Regions from separate parts of the Homo sapiens genome. Here all the other regions are linked to region 3. Evidence: promoter capture Hi-C in 16 types of primary human blood cells and fetal thymus (Javierre and others, 2016). All regions are on one chromosome and are shown on one strand. The core of a region is centred on a gene start or on the middle of the fragment in contact, and the rest is flanking DNA. Distances in the headings are between cores, read along the strand shown. Region 1 has its middle 14 kb from the start of LINC02332. Region 2 overlaps TRD-AS1 (TRD antisense RNA 1). Region 3 holds the start of CDH24 (cadherin 24).

Region 1 (2,922 bases), core at 143-2,642, 510 kb after region 3:
CAATTTTATTATCAGATGTATACTTAGGCTACTTTGCATGTGCCTTGATTATTCCCAAGATCATGCCTTCTTTCTTGTCGTTCCCTACGCCCAGAACTTCCCTTCTCTCCTTTCTCTGCCCATACAGATCTTATCCATCCTTCAGGGCTCAATGAATCCTTTGTACCACAGGAAACTTCTCAGTCTAGGCCAACTTCTCAGCCAGCACCCTATCCCCTCTGAATCTCTATTGTGTCCATTGACATCATCAACTGGTCAATACTAAAATAGTTTTCTGGCTGCTTAATTTACAATAGTTCAGTACCTTTGTCTAGTTTTTATACCACTTGAGGACAGGACAGGAATCTATCTCACACTTCATACTCAGTCTAACATTTTATAGAGTGATAGTCACATAGAAGGCATTTTACAATACCCATTGAATGATTAAAGTCAAATTTTAATGTGTTTGACCTAGAGAAACATGAATATTCAAGATAGATAGTAATGCTTTTCCCTTCCCAGACCTCTGTAAGAAAATTAGTTACAACATCTACAGCAAGCCTCACCATAGTAATAAGTGATATCTCCAGAGAAAGGATTAGTGACACTGGCCCATGGGGTTGCACGTGGTGCCACCTGGGATGACTCACCAGATATAATGAATACATGGGTCCCTTTCCCAAATGTGAGTTTATCAATTGTTCCTCCAGTATTCATACCGTAGGTGACACCATTGCACAAACTCACAGGACCTACCTATTACTTAAATAAGAGAAACACTGATCTCCCCCACAAGGCAGGAGAACAGGATAATCACACTCCTAAGGGTTAGACCTTCTTTTTTTTTTTTTTTTTTGTTTTTTTGAGAAGGAGTCTTGCTCTGTTGCCCAGGCTGGAGTGCAATGATGCGATCTCAGCTCACTGCAATCTCTGCCTCCCGGGTTCAACAATTCTCCTGCCTCAGTCTCCCGAGTAGCTGAGACTACAGGCGCGTGCCATCACGCCCGGCTAATTTTTGTATTTTTAGTAGAGATAGGGTTTCACTGTGTTAGCCAGGATGGTCTTGATCTCCTGACCTTGTGATCTCCCTGCCTCGGCCTCCCAAAGTGCTAGGATTACAGGCGTGAGCCACCACGCCAGGCCTAAACCTTCTGCTCTTTTGCACTGAAATTTCGCTTCTGATACAAAAGTTCTCCTCCTGTTCCATTCTGCTGTGATTCCCTGGGCTGAGGTTGTGACTTCATATGATTTCAATAAACCAATAATTCCCTAGAACAAAAACCTCAATTCCAGGCAGCAGTATCTTGGATATGTTTGTGGAAGGTTCAGGAGTACTCGCTCATTGCCTGCCTCATGGTTCCTAAGGTCCCAGCCTAAGGATGATGTCTGCAGAGCACCGAGAGCTGGATGGGAGGATTTTCTGGGGATGGGTGGAAGAAACCATTTTGGAGCCCACAGAGGAAAATACCTGGGTTCAAGTTGGCATTTTGGACAAAGAAGAAATAGTTGTCCGTCCTCCCTTGCTCTCCTGCTTCATTCTACTTACTTGGCCGGATGCTGAGTCTGGTCCCTGATCCAAAGATTATCTTGGAAGCACTGCTGTACCCCCACTGTGGGTAAGGTCTTTGAGATAACCTTCTTGATGCTAATCTGCTGGAAGCCACTGGGGTCCCAGAGCAACATTCTAAAAGGCTCCTTGGGTCTTTGTTGCTTACATCTTTTATTTCCCAAGGAAGCGATTCTCCTTTCCCTTTATGATAGTGTAAACCTTAGTATAAGCAAAGCCTCAATAATAATAATTATAATAATATTTTAGAAAAGCTACTACTTATTGATCACTTTTTACATTCTGGCCATTATCTCATATTATTATGATGTAGTTATAGTCATTTTGCTGCTGAGAAAGTGGAGGCTTTATTGAAAACAGCCAGTGAGAGTAGAGCCCAGATTTTCCCCAGGTCTGTGGGCCTCCCTCTACATTGCTGCCTCTATACCTTGTAATTGCATGTGGTATACTTGCCGTTCAGTTAGGGGTCTGGGCCACTTTTACCCTTAGGAGGAAGCTGAAAACTCTCCTAACTCCAGAGAGGAAGATTCTATGAGTAGGGATCCCCATACCATGTTTATTAGCCAATCCAGGGAATTTAGCTACATGCTGCAATAAAAGAGAATTTGTGTTTGCCATTAACTCATCTCTTTCCCCCAAGGGCACTTAGCTAATTTCCTGAATGTTCAGATTATCTGGTGCCGATATTATCAGCTTCACTTGAAAGCACTCATTATTTGGAACTCTTTTTATGTTTCTATAAATTATTCTGCTCAGATTTTCATTTACGCAATTGGCTCTTGGCACTTCTGTGTTTCATATGAGAAATGGGAACATTTTAAGTCACCAAGAGAGCTTGTAGGAATGGAAAATGAGTGCTTCTCAATATATCCCCAAGTTTGCTATAGATCATCACCTGTTTTCTCATAGACAAGTGGTCAGTTCTTTTTGCACTGGTCACTTGCAGGGTCATACTCACATGGGTGTACAGCCAGCCTGGTCCCTGCTCCAAAAATCAGCTTATTGTAGCCACCAGAAAACACACAATCAGATGGTGCTTTACAAGAACTCTGACCTGGGCAGGGCATGCCTGGCTGGGGCACTCCATCTCCTGTCCCTGTTTTCCAGGCTCCCCCAAGTCAAACTTTCTCTGACAAGAGAGAAAAGTCTCACCTACCAGGTCTTCATTCCACCTACTCACTCCTGAAGATGCATCAGAGGCCTCATTGATGCTGATTATTTCTTTCTAATCATCACGAAATAGCTTCATTTTATTTTGGCAATTGTTGAACACCTATGCAACTGTGCAGCAAATGCTCCAGCCACTGTCGGAACAGCTCCGGGGCAGATTAGTTGCAGGCGTCAACATGCAGGATCTACGATGCCCCAACACT
Region 2 (2,846 bases), core at 270-2,769, 670 kb after region 3:
ACAGAGTTCAGTGAAAAGGGGCTGTTAGGAGACCAGACAGTTTGGGGAAAGGTTTTATGTAATTTAAATTTACAGAGGGTTGGCCTCTCCTTGTGTTTACTGACAAGGAACAAGAAGCTTCAGTATCAACTCCCTAGGAATATAACCTTTAACAGCAAAGCATTTGATCAAAAAGAGCTCAGAAAAGTATTATATTGTTCACTTAATCCTCAGAATGTTTGTGTAGGAAGATAATTTGTTTAGTTGAATGATAAATCAACTCACAACCTTTTATTACTTAACTGATTCCTTTCTTTCTCTCTGATGTGGTCTTTTCTTTCAGTCAGAAGAACTTTAGACCCTCCTGGTTTTCCCCCTCCTCTCCCTTGGGCCTACTTTTTTCTTAGCAAACCACAAGAAATAAGGGTCCATAGTAGGCATTGCCCAGGGCTTGGTTTCTTTGCCAGTCCTGTAGTTGGACATTTATATTCTGGAGACAGAGGCTTCCGGGGAGCAGTTGGTATCAGATGATTTATACATTTCTGTGAGTGCTGAGACACAAGATCCAGCTGCTTGTTGGCTTAGCTGTGTCGTAGAGTTGGGCTGGATTACCTTGGTCTTATTCATAGTGCCTGGACAAACAGGCAACCCTCCATACACTATCAGCTCCAGGTCTTGGAACCAAAGTGAAGCCAAAGATCAGAGTCTGTGTCTTCCTTCCCTCTCTCTTCATTTCTGGAAACATCACAAGAAAGAAGAGAAATTCTGCTCAATTTCATGGGATTGTGAGGGTGTTGTCATTTGGAGTCTAATGTGGATCAGTGGGAACCACAGCCCGTGAGCTTCCCACATCTCCCTTGATCCCCCGTCATGTCATGTCTTCTCTGAGCTTAACTGAGTTTAACCCCCAACTTGCAAGCCAGGAACTGGGGAACGGAATTTAATTTTCCTTGTGCATCTACTGCATGCCTTCAACTTCCCCACAACACTGACTCATATAACTTTCACAGCCAACCAAGGTATGTATTACGTTCTCGTTTTATGAACAAAGAGGACCTAGGAGGTTAAGTAACGTTCGCAAAGTTTTAGAGCTAATTGTGCTAGAGATAGAACTTGAATCTAGATATAAAGTTCTGACAATTTCTATGACCATATACAGCGAAAAGGAAGGAGTAGGCCAATTCTCCTTCTTCCTCTACCTACCACTGTCTTTGTGAAAGGGTCAAGCAATGCTGGGAGGGAGGAGATTCCTTAGCTGTGTCCTTTCCCAGTAGCTCCACTCCCCAGGCCTCCACCACATGTCATGAATCTAATCACTCCAGTGGTCAGCTTCAACTTTCAGCAGGTGCTGGGATTTGGCCAGGGCTTGCCCTGGTAGTCATGTGAAGGGAACAGCCCAGTCACTGTCACATCCTTAGCAGCCCGCTGTCACTCCCAGTGTCCTTAGGGCCAGAACTGACCAGCATCCCAGAAATTCCTGAGCTGAATCTTGTTCCCAGGGACTACTGAACCCCTGAGAAGGAGGGTGGGGGAGAGCCAGATACCCCCACCCACCACTGTGCTTTATCCTCTGACAGGCTGGACCCGAGTGAGGAAGATCAGTGGCAGGAGTGACCTCCAGCCAGACTCCTTCTGCCCTTCACTTTCCCACAATGGGAGGGTGGACCCGCTTGCTCTGGGCCAGTTTCTCATGGGCTTCTCTGAAGCAGGTACTTGCCGATGTGGGAATCCCCATACTCTCAGGGGACCCTGAGATGTTGGGGACTTCCACCCCTCAGAAGAGGGAGGTGATAAAGTTGGCTGGGACCTGCAGGCTCGTCAGCCTCAACTACGTAACAAGTGGCAGGGCTTGCCTGCTTGTGAGAGGCTCTGTTGTCTTTGGAACAAGTTGAAGGAATTGACATTAATATTTTTGAAGTAAACATAGGCCCTGGAACTCAAGGCACAGGCCAAGCACCCCTCAGGTAAAGCTGGGGCCAAGGTGAAACAAGCAGATGCAGGAAGTGCAGCAGACGAGTGGCCAGAGGACAGGTGTAAACCCCAGAGAACTGGTCAGGACTGACTGCAGAGAGGGTGGCAGACACCGTCACTTCTGGCACAGGCTCAAAGGGGTTTGCAAAGAAAGAAAAAGGAAGAAGTGTTAAGACAGTCTGACGGGTGATGAGTGTTCTATTAGGGTGGGATTTTTGCATGTGGGAGAGGACTTCTGATTGGTTTTCAAGTAAACTTTTCAATCTTTGATTCGTTTACTATGTATTGGTAATACATGGGGATTTTCCAGGCTGGGTAGGCCCATACGAGTTTTCCAGTTTTCACTGAATTTGAAAATATGGTCGTCTGCTTTGGGTCTGAGTCTCACATAAGCAATTCTCAACCCCAACTCTGCCTTCTAATCTTAGGTCTTGGGCAAGACTGTTAACCTTTCTGGGCCTCAATTTCCTTGTCTATAAAAGAAAAGGGTTAAACTATGTGATCATCTGGAAACCAACTCTAGGTGCTGAGAAGGCAGAGGTCCCTTCCAGGTGGCCCACCCCTTCCTCGTCCCCTGCAGTCCTCAGGCAGCAGGCTGCCCTTCTGCAATCAGTTTACTTCTGGAAGCTGCTGTAGATACTCAGCCTAATTGGATTTTCCGTGTGTAAAGATGTGAGTAGAGTCACAGAGAGGTTTCCTCCAGGCTCTGAAGGCCTCCAGGATCACTCTGGATGACAAATAGAATTTAATCAGTTGATCAGTGTGCCTAAATCCTCTTGTCATGGTGGTGATGTTTGCAGTTCAATTTCATTTTTATAGAATAAGGGATTCAGTGATTTGGTGAGAAAGGGAGGTGTTTCTTTTGTAACCATGATATTGCCATATTATTTAGCCCC
Region 3 (2,799 bases), core at 224-2,723:
CCCCCAAACACACCCCCTTAACCTATCTCTTGGGACTTAGCCCGACCCTCCCTCTCATTTCCCATTAAGTCTGAGAGGCAAGAGCTAGGTTAGGCAAGGAGGTGGTTGGCCAGAGATGGGGAACAGCCAGGTGCCCCAGTCCTCTGATTTTTCCTCCATCCTGCTTACCACCTCCCTGGGTACTTACAGCCTTCTCTTGGGAACAGCCGGGGCCAGGACTGGGTCACCTATGAGCTGAATCAGCATCTCCTCCTGAGTCCCAGGGCCCCTGCAGTTCCCAGTCTCTTCTGTCCTGCAGCCCTTGCCTCTTTCCCACAGGTTCCACTTTATATCCACCTTTTCCTTTTGTTCAATTTTTATTTTTATTTTTTTTATTATTAAATGATGTGGTCTATGGAAAAAAAAATAAAAATCTGACTTAGTTTTAAACTGTGTGAGTGGCTTTCTTTGGGCAGGTTAAGAAGCCACTGTGGATATCTGAGCGTGGACATCTGAGGATATCTGGAGTAGGAGTTGCTCTCATTCCATGTGTTCCTTTAGGCTGACTGCTTCCTGCTTATTGAACTTCCCACGTCTTTTATCCCCTGCCTTGGCCCTGACCAACCCAAAGCTGTGGACCTTCCTCATTCGGGAAGGCATGGAGCAACCTGTGTCCGTGGCGGCACCCCAGCAGGGCTAGGAGGGTGGGTCCTCTTCTGGTTCCTGGTCCTGTGCACGGTTAAATTAGGGGTTTGGTCACCTGCCTGCCACCTTGGTGCCTCCCACAACTACCACCAGGGGGCGGCAGCTCCTCGCTCTGTTGGCCCCTGTAACCGAGCTTCCCAAGAAGGGTTCCACTGCCCGCCTCCGACCTCCCGCCGATGTCGTGCCTCTGTTCCCGACCCGCTCCCTGGGCCCGGGCCTCGGACTCTCTGGACCCTTCTGCCGTCCTTAAGTGTCCCCCAGCTGACCTGCTACCGTGCTTTGCATGGGCTCTCAAAACGCCGCCGCCTTGCAGCTGGGATTCCATCCACACCAGTCCCAAAAGCCAGCCGGGAACCGGGAGCCCGGAGCCGGGTCTCTCCGCAGTGGGCTCCGAATTCCCCACCTCACCGCGCGCTCGCCCGTTTTCCGCTGCGGGCGGGGACTGGCAGCTTCGCGCTCCCGGGTGCACCCGCCCCGCCAGCTCTTCGGAAATGGCCTGGCGCCGTGGCCTGGACGTCCTCCCGCCCGAGTGCCCTGCCGGGCGCTGCGGGCCCGGTCCGGGAGGGGCGCCGCATCTGTATGCGCCCCGCAGCCCAGGAGCGCCGAGGGGGCGGACGCGCGGCGCCGCCTCCGCCCCCGCCCCCGCCGCGCGGGCCCGGCTGGCCGGGGAGGGTCGGAGGCTGGGCTCTCCTCTCCCGCGCGGCGCGGAGCCGCCTCGCTCCTCCGCAGGCGGAGTCTTCTTCCCCCGCCCCCTCCGTCTCGCTCCCTTGTTCTCGCCGGGGCCGCTCAGACCTGCAGCGGAGCCGCGGCGCCCGCTCCAATCGGCTCGGGGCTGTGCCCCCGGGACCCGGCGACGGGGGCGGGCGGGGGCGCTTCCCGCCGGCCTGGGCCCCTCGGCAGTGCCAGGTAAGGGCGCCTGCCCCGGAGCAGGGGTCGGGAATCCGCGGAGGGGTAGGAGGGGGCCCGCAGCCTGCGGGGGTCTTCGGAGGGGTGCGCTCCGTGGCTGGGAGCCCGCTGCCGGCTCCCTTCTCCCGCGCTCTGCCTCTTTCCCTTCTCCCCTCGCACCTCTCTCCCTCTTTCTTCTCTCGATTTCTCTTCACCCTTCCTTCTCTGCCTGTTTGCCTTCCTTATCCCTTCCCTCTGTCTCCCCAACCCTTCCCTCTCCCTCTTGTCCTTTTTCCATCTCCTCTCCCTCTTTGCCTTTTTCTTTCTCTACCTTTCTCCCCTTTCCTGCCTTTCTCTTTTCTCTTTCTTGCTCTCCTTTCCCTCCCTCTCCTCTCCCCTTCCTGCTATCCTGTTTCCCACTCCTCTATCCCCTTCCTTCTCGCCTCCTCATCCCGCCTTCTCTCTGGTCCCCAGCCTTCCTCCGGTTTCCCCCTTCCCTCGGGAGCAAAGGGACTGTCAGGTGTGTGTCTGCTCTGAGGGAGGAGGGGCAGAAGCCACAGCTACCTGAGGGGTCCTCCCCCCCGCCCCTAGGAGAAAGGAGAGCAGTGGGAAGGGTCTCCTCTCTAGCTCCCTTCCCGTGGCCCCTCCCTGCCTCCACCCCTCCTGTCTGCTCCTTCTCCCAGAATTAAGTTCCCGAGGCCTGGCTTGACACCCCCGAAGCTGAGGTCTGCCCCTGCCTGCCCGGAACTGCCCCCGGTGACCCGTTTCCAAGCCTGGCCCCTAGGACTCCTCTCTGCCTTCAGACACCCAGGCTGCTGCCCTGGTCTCTCTCATTCTGTCTCTTGCCACTGTTCTGTTTCTGTCTCTCATCCAGTCATTTCTCTGCCGGACAGTCCCTGAGTCAGTCTAGCCGTCAGTCATTATCTGTCTCTAGCCTCTGGGTGGACCTCTCTCCCCGGTCACCTCCCCCTGTCCCCCACCCTGTATCCTCTTCCTTCAGCTCTGGCTCCCAACTCCTGTCTCACGAGCCCAGTCCCCCTTCAAGGACTGCACTGGCAGCGTGGGCTGGAGACAGGGCCTGGAGAGTGGGGCTCCCCCTTGTGGGGAGGGACTTTCACAGACTCTCAGCCCTGCCTGAGGCTGCACTCCTTGTCATCTCATGCTGACCCTAGACACCTTAAGGCCACACCTCCATGAATCCCAACTCCGTAATTTTAAGCCCTTTCTCTG

Evidence for each region. The method cuts DNA at HindIII sites, captures the fragments that hold promoters and counts their contacts. A CHiCAGO score of 5 or more calls a contact.
Region 1: a fragment that was not itself captured here is called in contact with the fragment with the promoter of CDH24 in region 3 in 1 of 17 cell types (neutrophils); the score reaches 5.4 in neutrophils.
Region 2: a fragment that was not itself captured here is called in contact with the fragment with the promoter of CDH24 in region 3 in 2 of 17 cell types (total B cells and naive B cells); the score reaches 6.5 in total B cells.

Annotation. Positions count from the first base shown.
Region 1 is chr14:22,541,847-22,544,768 of GRCh38, reverse strand. It overlaps TRA, TRAJ4, TRAJ3 and TRAJ2. Among named protein-coding and RNA genes, the nearest start is that of LINC02332, 14 kb to the left of the region's middle. The HindIII fragment of the contact is 3,702 bases long and covers 1-2,922 here.
Region 2 is chr14:22,382,840-22,385,685 of GRCh38, reverse strand. The region is part of intron 2 of TRD-AS1 (TRD antisense RNA 1); the gene reads left to right. It also overlaps TRA. Among named protein-coding and RNA genes, the nearest start is that of TRD-AS1, 99 kb to the left of the region's middle. RefSeq lists an enhancer at 1,323-2,032. The HindIII fragment of the contact is 2,799 bases long and covers 120-2,846 here.
Region 3 is chr14:23,056,194-23,058,992 of GRCh38, reverse strand. CDH24 (cadherin 24) reads left to right here and starts at 1,473. Exons shown (of 13, transcript NM_144985.4): 1 at 1,473-1,590. ACIN1 (apoptotic chromatin condensation inducer 1) reads left to right here. Exons shown (of 19, transcript NM_001386863.1): 19 at 1-429. LOC105370705 (collagen alpha-2(I) chain-like) reads right to left here and starts at 1,333. Exons shown (of 2, transcript NR_169511.1): 1 at 951-1,333; 2 at 344-708. RefSeq lists silencers at 1,244-1,393, 1,474-1,593. The HindIII fragment of the contact is 16,339 bases long and covers 1-2,799 here.